Regions from separate parts of the Homo sapiens genome. Here region 1 is linked to region 2. The links are contacts of gene promoters, found by promoter capture Hi-C in blood cells and fetal thymus (Javierre and others, 2016). All regions are on one chromosome and are shown on one strand. The core of a region is centred on a gene start or on the middle of the fragment in contact, and the rest is flanking DNA. Distances in the headings are between cores, read along the strand shown. Region 1 holds the start of SYNPO2L-AS1 (SYNPO2L antisense RNA 1). Region 2 overlaps PPP3CB (protein phosphatase 3 catalytic subunit beta).

The links. Contacts are between HindIII fragments. The CHiCAGO score rates a contact against its expected background, and 5 or more counts as called.
Region 1: the fragment with the promoter of SYNPO2L-AS1 here is called in contact with a fragment that was not itself captured in region 2 in 1 of 17 cell types (endothelial precursors); the score reaches 5.1 in endothelial precursors.

The regions. Positions count from the first base shown.
Region 1 is chr10:73,651,350-73,655,803 of GRCh38, reverse strand. SYNPO2L-AS1 (SYNPO2L antisense RNA 1) reads right to left here and starts at 1,765. Exons shown (of 3, transcript NR_187519.1): 1 at 1,498-1,765. SYNPO2L (synaptopodin 2 like) reads left to right here. Exons shown (of 4, transcript NM_001114133.3): 2 at 1,524-1,675; 3 at 2,151-2,665. The HindIII fragment of the contact is 5,539 bases long and covers 915-4,454 here.
Region 2 is chr10:73,444,090-73,448,396 of GRCh38, reverse strand. PPP3CB (protein phosphatase 3 catalytic subunit beta) reads left to right here. Exons shown (of 14, transcript NM_021132.4): 11 at 1,824-1,905; 12 at 3,575-3,672. Among named protein-coding and RNA genes, the nearest start is that of MSS51, 13 kb to the right of the region's middle. The HindIII fragment of the contact is 2,027 bases long and covers 1,331-3,357 here.

The DNA.
Region 1 (4,454 bases), core at 516-3,015, 210 kb before region 2:
CTGAAATGAGGCTTCAGGGAAAGGGAACCCAAGGGATCCTGGGAAGAGATGTGTGGTGGCATATGGCGGGGGTTGGGGGGGTGGGAGGCTGTGAAGATGGGGTGGGTGGTGGGCAGGGAAGTATGCTCAAGTCTCATAGTGGGAGTAGCGTCTGACCACAGGCTTCCTGTGGGGGTCTATTAGAAAAGAGAATTCGCGGTTTCCAGGGAGCAGAGGAAAAGGAAAGGCTCTGCTTCAGTTCCCTGCAGCACTGTGGTATCAGAGGCCCAGCTCTGGTCATCCAGTGTTTGTTCTCTTGGGTATGTGCCTCTACTCCAAACTCCAGAAATACGGGGAAGGTTCTAATTTCTCTCTGACTAAACTGATATGTGATGAACTGAAACTGCCTCGAACAGCCTAGCCCAGCCCAGCCCTACCCTGCCTCACCCTGCCCTGCCCATGCCTTCAGTGCTCTTTCCCTAGGTCAGATCCTTTCTCTCACTAGGCAAGACTTTTTTAGGTGCTAGGAGGGTTATGGCAAGATCTGGCCTCACAGATGAAGTCATTATCCTTTTGGTTTCACCCTACAGGCTTAGTTTTCCGAACTGTAAAATGTGGGTAATAATAGTACCTGTACCTACTTCATGGAACCATTCTAAGGATTAAATGCAATAATACATGTAGCACAGTGCCCAACACTTAGTAAGAACTCAATAAATGGTAGCCACTACTACTATTATTACTTTGGCATATATACATTTGTGTGTATACATGGCACACATATACCCAAATAATCACAATCTCCCAGAATACCGCTGGACTCCCTCCAACCTGGAGTACTGTTCTAAAATCTTGACTGTGTAATGGCGCCTGGGGTTACAAGGCCTAGTAGAGAATTACCAGCCAATATAGATATTGCCCTTGGAGAAAAAGCTTGTGGAGATAATCACCATTTCTTTCCGTTTTTTTTCTTTTCTTTTTTTTTGCGACAGAGTCTTACTCTGTTGCCCAGGCTGGAGTGCAGTGACATGATGGCTCACTGCAACCTCTGCTTCCTGGGTTCAAGCAATTCTCCTGCCTCAGCCTCCCAAGTATCTGGGATTACAGGCGCACACCACCACGGCCAGCTGATTTTTGTACTTTTAGTAGAGACAGCGTTTCACCCATTGGCCAGGCTGGTCTCAAACTCCTGATCTCAAGTGATCCACCCACCTAGGCCTCCCAAAGCACTGGGCTTACAGGCGTGAGCCACTGCACCCAGCCAATAACCACCATTTCTAGTTACCTACCCCATGCAGTTCTTCCCAAGCCTCTTTCATTCAATGGTTACCCTATTTCCCACCATATGATGTATTTCTTTCTCCAGTCTGTATACTTTCTTCCCTCTAGACAGGCCACTTCAACTGCAGCCACTTCCATGCATCTCCCCACCCTTCTTACCCTGCAAAGTAAAATCCCCTCCTGTGGGTCCTTCCCATCTTTTCCTTTCATTCTATTCCCTTTGGAGCCCCCTCTTACCTACAGTGTCTCCTTCAACATCTCAGATTCGAAGACGGAGCCAGGCTGGCAGAGCAGGACTCCGAGAGAGGGACCAGCTCTTGGCAATCAATGGGGTCTCTTGCACCAACCTCTCCCATGCCAGTGCCATGAGCCTCATCGATGCCTCAGGAAATCAGCTTGTCCTCACTGTGCAGCGGTATGGACCTCTCTCCTCTTCTCTTCCCCTAATCCAGGGCTCCCATTGCCTGTCTCAGCTCTATGTCTCACTGGCCTGGCTTTAGCAACTAACAGGTACCTATTTCTGCTCGTGCGTTTCTGCTGGAGTGCAGATGGTTTGTGTCTGCCTCCCAGAGGGCTTGAATGTATCTGCAATTAAGGGATGGGGATGTCAGTGGGTATTTGACTGATGAGCCTACTTCAACCCCTGGCCTGTTTCCTCCTCATTACATCTTCCTCTAAGCCTATTTCCACTCACAGCCCTTCAAGCACATTTGCCTCCCAGTTTGTCTTCATATCTCCACTCTTCCCGGCCCACCCATTCCAACTGTATGACAGCCTTCTCTCTCCCTTACCTCTTCCCTCCCCCTTACCTCTTCCCTCCATCCCTTCCAGATCTCTCTAGCTGTCAGTACCCAGCCCATCTCTCAAGCTCTGTCATCTTTCCTATCCAGGTTAGCAGACGAGGGTCCTGTGCAATCTCCATCTCCCCATGAGCTTCAGGTGCTGTCACCCTTATCTCCACTAAGTCCTGAGCCCCCTGGTGCTCCAGTTCCTCAGCCTCTTCAGCCTGGGAGCCTTCGTTCACCTCCTGATAGTGAGGCTTACTACGGAGAGACTGACAGTGATGCTGATGGCCCTGCCACCCAGGAGAAGCCCCGTCGACCTCGCCGCCGAGGCCCCACAAGGCCCACCCCTCCGGGTGCCCCACCTGATGAGGTCTACCTGTCTGACAGCCCTGCAGAGCCAGCACCTACTATCCCTGGCCCTCCCAGCCAGGGTGACAGCCGTGTGAGCTCCCCGTCTTGGGAGGATGGGGCAGCCCTTCAGCCACCCCCAGCTGAGGCTCTGCTGTTACCCCATGGCCCCCTCCGACCTGGTCCTCATCTCATCCCTATGGTGGGGCCTGTTCCCCACCCAGTGGCAGAAGATCTTACTACCACCTACACCCAGAAGGCCAAGCAAGCCAGTGAGTGCCTGAACCCCTTTTCCCCAGCCAGGATCCTTCAATCTGAGCCTTAAATCCAGCCTTCTATAGCCGTACATTCTCCCTACCTTGGGACCCTTGGATACAGTCTTGGGGACAGGAGGGGTAATGAGTAGAAGGGGAGCATAATTATTCTCATGGCCACCATTATTTTTGCTGTTTGAACCAATGTGGCAAAAGGGTAAGGTGATTCAGTTCAACCCAGGAACAGGGTAAGTAGGGAAATTGGAAAGGGACACAAATAGATGAAGGGTTTGGTGGTGGTGATAATTGTTATTGTGTGTCATGATTGGGTGAAAGCAGAGTACAGACACAGGACAGGGGAGTATTTAAAAGCAGGTTGAAGGCGGGGCAAGGTGGCTCATACCTGTAATCCAAGCACTTTGGGAGGCTGAGGTGGGAGGATAGCATGAACGCAGGATTTTTGTTTTGTTTTGTTTTTTGTTTTTTTGAGATGGAGTTTGGCTCTTGTGCCTAGGCTGGAATGCAATGGCGTGATCTTGGCTCATTGCAACCTCCGCCTCCCGGGTTCAAGCGATTCTCCAGCCTCTGCCTCCCGAGTAGCTGGGATTATAGGCACCCGCCACCACACCTGGCTAATTTTTTGTATTTTTAGTAGAGATGGGGTTTCACCATACTGGTCAGGCTGGTCTCGAACTCCTGACCTCAGGTGATATGCCTACCTCGGCCTCCCAAAGTGCTGGGATTACAGGCGTGAGCCACCATGCCCGGCAGAAGCCAGGAGTTTGAGACCAGCCTGGACAACATCGTGAGACTTCGTCTCCAGTAAAAATTTTAAAATTAGCCAAACACTGTGGCACATGTCTATGGTCCCAGCTACTTGGGAGGCTGAGGCAAGAGGATTGCTTGAGCCTGAGAGGTTTGGGCTGCAGTGAGCCATGTTTGCGCCACTGCACTCCAGCGTGAGCAACAGACCAAGACCCTGTCTTAAAAATAAATAAATAAATAAATAATAAAAATTAATAAATAAAAGTGGGTCAAAGCTACAGGGGTTCTTTTTTTTTTCTGGTTTTTTTTTTTTTTTTTTTTTTTTGAGATAGAGTCTTGCACTGTCACCCGGGCTGGAGTGCAATCTTGGTTCACTGCACCCTCCACCTCCTGGGTTCAAGCAATTCTCCTGCCTCAGCCTCCCGAGTAGCTGGGATTACAGGTGCCCGCCACTACACCTGGCTAATTTTTTGTATTTTTAGTAGAGACGGCGTTTCACTATGTTGGCCAGGCTGGTCTCGAACTCCTGACCTTGTGATCCACCCGCCTCGGCCTCCCAAAGTGCTGGGATTGCAGGCGTGAGCCATTGGCCAAAGGATTCTTTATAGTATTAATAGCAGGCACCTTTGACATTTGCAAGTTCAGTTCGGATTCCTGGGGACTGAGAGGCTATGGGATGATCATGAGATCCCGAGGAAGTGGCAGAGGGAGGGAGCTTTGGCTCCTTATCTCAGGCAAGAATGTTGGCCTGGGCAGAAAAAGCCCATTCCACTTATCTCAGGCTTTGCTATTTTTGATGTGAGCTACAGAACAAGGTCTAAGGGTAAACGTTCTCCCTGCTCTATGCCTCCCGTGCTTTCCCACAGAGACCGTTCTTGTTACCTCCAAAATCTCATGATTCCCCCTCTAGTTATATTTCTTCCCTCTCCTCCACCATTTTGATTCCTGATCTATAGAACTTTGTGTCTCTCAGTTTGGAGTGGAGGCTAAGGACATGAGAGTTGAGAGTCTGACATCCCTGAGTGTCCAATATCCCAGGAAT
Region 2 (4,307 bases), core at 1,095-3,594:
TACTTTTCCCTGCATGATTAGGGTTGTTTGATTGTCTATTATTTCCCAAAGAAATGTTACTGTGACCATTTACTTTAATATGATGCATGATGTGTTTGTAGACTGATTTAAAATCCTGATTTGTACAGTGTTTTTATATTCCTGTGAATTTTTCATTTGATATCAGTATAGTTTACATGTCATTTGGTTTTATAGATATAGAAATTAAATCTGAAAATATGAATGTACTTATTACAGCCATCCTCCCCAACACCCTACTGCTTATCCCCAGTCTAGCTACTTTAAAATTCTGTCAATTTTAAAACAAAATGTTTATAATCATTTATTAGAAGAGAATCAGACTTACCTTCTATCCTTGAACAAGTCACTTAATAACCTCAGTTTCTTTGTCTATAAAATGAGGAGATTGCACTTTATAGTATCTCCATTGTCTCTTCAAATTCTAATATTCTATGATTCTTATATTTTTAGTTTTTGGGGGTTTTTTTGTGGTTTTTTTTTTTGGTATTTTAAAAATACCTGTTTAGAGTGCTGTGGTACCCAGGTACCCACACAGTTTTGGACTTGTAAAAGCTGTAGCTTCAGTGCTCATAATATTTACCCTTTAGAAGATCATAAACATGTCATGGAGCCTATTTTTTTCCCCTAAAATATGTCTTTTGTTTCTGTCTTTCAAGTTGGATTTCTTTTTCTCTTTTCTTGCAGTCAGATCCAGTCATTATCTTAGTTTTTAATTATATGTAATTGTGGACTGCTTGAATTTTAAATGAGATGTTCTCTCCCAGAAGACTTACAGTTGTTCAGACCTCTGTATACCTAAGGCCCCTTTTGAATTAGTGTCTTTAGCCTTTCCTTAACCTTCTCCTCAACCATGGTGCTTCCATGTGTGTTTTCATTGTGTTGAAGCACGGCTCTAAGGAACCACACTTTTGGGTCCAGAGTGATTCTAGTTGCTATATATGAAATAACAGGACTGAGATTGATGTTGTTCTTTCTGGAGGCCAAGGGAAGGAAGATAAAACCTTTGAGTCATTCTTCAGCCAAGGATTTAGTTATTTTGGTTTATTCTCTTCTACATCAGTTGTAGACAGCACAGCTAACCCTTTAGAGATGAAGCAGTAGTGATCCTTTAGCCATGTTTTTCTTGTTGCTTATGTCATACTCACCTAGAGATGTAAAAGATTGTATATATTTGCATGACCTTAGGAGCACCTGGTACATTAGGCACCTGGTGCATTGTTGAAATGCTGGTATGGCCCTTAGTTCAGGATTACCTGCACAGTAGCTCCTTCATGCCATTCATTTTAGACCAACTCAAAGCAAAGAAGCTTATTCTGTCATAGTCTGATGGGATATTGTCAGCCTGCATGTCAAATACTTTGTGATAGTTAAATAAGACTACAGGACTGTTAGAAATTCTTGTCTGTTAGTCTGCATGCCATAGGCTGTCATGAAAATTAAACAGAGACTATAGGATTATTATCAGTTTTTGCCCTCTGGTTTGTAATGCAAGTTGGGCTCAAGTTTGTTTGTTTTTTTTTCCCCATTGCTGTTTTACTGATTAGCCAGTAGAGTGAAATATTAAAGTTTGTGGATTACTTTTTATTTCTATATTTATCAGACCCCAGTATTAGACCAATGCTGAGCTAAACATTGAGAGAGCAAGACATTTTTTAGCATGAGTTCATCTAGTCCCCTCCATGTAAGCTGGTGGCAGGGGTCTTGGTACTGGTTTAGATGAGTGTGGAACAGGCTAATAGAATATTGTAAGCATGCATGCCCTAAACTTGAGCCTTTCTCTCTATTTATTCCATTGAAAGTAGGTTCAGCTGCAGCCCGGAAAGAAATCATAAGAAACAAAATTCGAGCAATTGGCAAGATGGCAAGAGTCTTCTCTGTTCTCAGGTAATGATATATTTTCTTGATTATTTGTTTTGCAGAAATTACGTTTATTGTACCTTGTTACAAGCATTGTCCCGCATCTAAAAGCAAAATGGGGCCGGGTATGGTGGCACACTCCTGTAATCTCAGCATTTTGGGATGCCAAGGCGGGCGGATCACCTGAGGTCAGGAGTTTGAAACCAGCCTGGCCAACATAGTGAATCCCCATCTCTACTAAATATACAAAAATTAGCCGGGCGTGGTGGCATGCACCTGTAATCCCAGCTACTCGGGAAGCTGAGGCACAAGAATTGCTTGAACCCAGGAGGCAGAAGTTGCGGTGAGCCGAGACTGCGCCACTCCAGACTGGGCGACTGAGCAAGGCTCTGTCTAAAAAAAAAAAAAAAGAAAGAAAAAAAGCAACAAGCAACAGGGTATCATTCTTCCTATAAAGAAGTTACTTAGGCCTGGCCAGGCGTGGTGGCTCACGCCTGTAATCCCAGCACTTTGGGAGGCCAAGGCAGGTGGATCACGAGGTCAAGAGATTGAGACCATCCTGGCCAACATGGTGAAACCCTGTCTCTACTAAAAATAGAAAAATTAACTGGATGTGGTGGTGCATGCCTGTAGTCCCAGCTACTCGGGAGGCTGAGGCAGGAGAATCACTTGAACTCGGGAGGTGGAGGTTGCAGTGATCTGAGATGACGCCACTGCACTCCAGCCTGGGTGACAGAGTGAGACTCTGTCTCAGAAAAAAAAAAAAAAAGGGTACTTAGGCCCTTAGGCTGGGTGCAGTGGCTCACGCCTGTAATCCCAACACTTTGGGAGGCCAAAGCGGGCGGAGTTCAAGACCAGGCTAGGAAACATGGCGAAACCCCATCTCCACAAAAAAGAATACAAAAATTAGCCGGGCCTGGTGGCATGCACCTGTGGTCCCAGCTACTCGGGAGGCTGAGATGGGAGGATCACCTGAGCCCCAGGAAGTTGTGAGTAGTGAGCCGTGATTGTGCCGCTGCACTCCAGCCTGGGTGACGGAGTGAGACCTTGTCTCAAAAAGAAAAAGAAGTTTATATATTTGTATACTGAAGATGGGAACACAAGTCCCTTTGAAGCTAAGATTTTTGACTCTGGTGATTGTTATTGCTCATCTTTGGTATCTCTTTTCCGTTTGTGATAACACTAAATTCACACCTTGAAAATTAGAGCAGGATAAGAAGGAGGGGATACTTTTTAGAGTATTCTTGATGAACTTGTTCATCCATATAGGAAGTCCCTTGTGCTGGAGCCATAAATTGCCTTCCCTGGGGTTAATTCAGGAAGACCAGGTTAAAGGGTACAAATGAATAGGTCAGTCTTTAAAAATTTGTTTGCACAACTGACTACATCAGACATTTGAACTTCAGAGCATATGAAATACCATATTTTCTCAATAGTATGATGCCCCTTGATGAATCTTACCACATATTTAATAAAGCTTTTCAGGAAAAACAATATATGCCTCAATGGTAAGGCACACCCTCATACCTGAAACACTTAAAATATAGAAAAATTAATGTCTTGAAATTGAGGAAAATATGGTAATAGCAATGAATGTCATGAATTTTATATATGGCCTATATCTAGACCCTATGTCTTCTTTTAAATTAAGTACTTGTTGGAAGTATCTGATATTTGTTATATCTCTCTGCTATAGGGAGGAGAGTGAAAGTGTGCTGACACTCAAGGGCCTGACTCCCACAGGGATGTTGCCTAGTGGAGTGTTAGCTGGAGGACGGCAGACCCTGCAAAGTGGTAATGATGTTATGCAACTTGCTGTGCCTCAGATGGACTGGGGCACACCTCACTCTTTTGCTAACAATTCACATAATGCATGCAGGGAATTCCTTCTGTTTTTTAGTTCCTGTCTCAGCAGCTGACCTAGACAGGGTACTGTATTAGCTAGTGTCTCATTAATACCTGATCAGGGCAGAAAACTGATAGAATGGGTATTCCTTTCAATTGAAAATAATGGTCAGTTCCTCAGCTTTTCATGAAATGATATGGGAGCAGCTCATATCATAATGTCTGAAATATTTATTTATTCATCTGTCTAATTCACCCTTTTCTTTTAAAAGCCCCAGTTTCAGAATGTGAATCAGGGATATTCCTGTTACTAAAATGGAAATGTAATTCCAAGTTTCTTTTTTAATTTTTTAAATTTATGTCATTGTATTGGACTATGCTTATATTTAAAACTACTTAATTTAGAGTTAACTACCTGCTTAGGCCCCAGAACATTACTTATGCCCTTCAGTTACCAAAAGATTTGTGCAAGGTTTTGTACCCTGGTAAATGATGCCAAAGTTTGTTTTCTGTGGTGTTTGTCAAATGTTCTATGTATAATTAACTGTCTGTAACATGCTGTTTCCTTCCTCTGCAGATGTAGC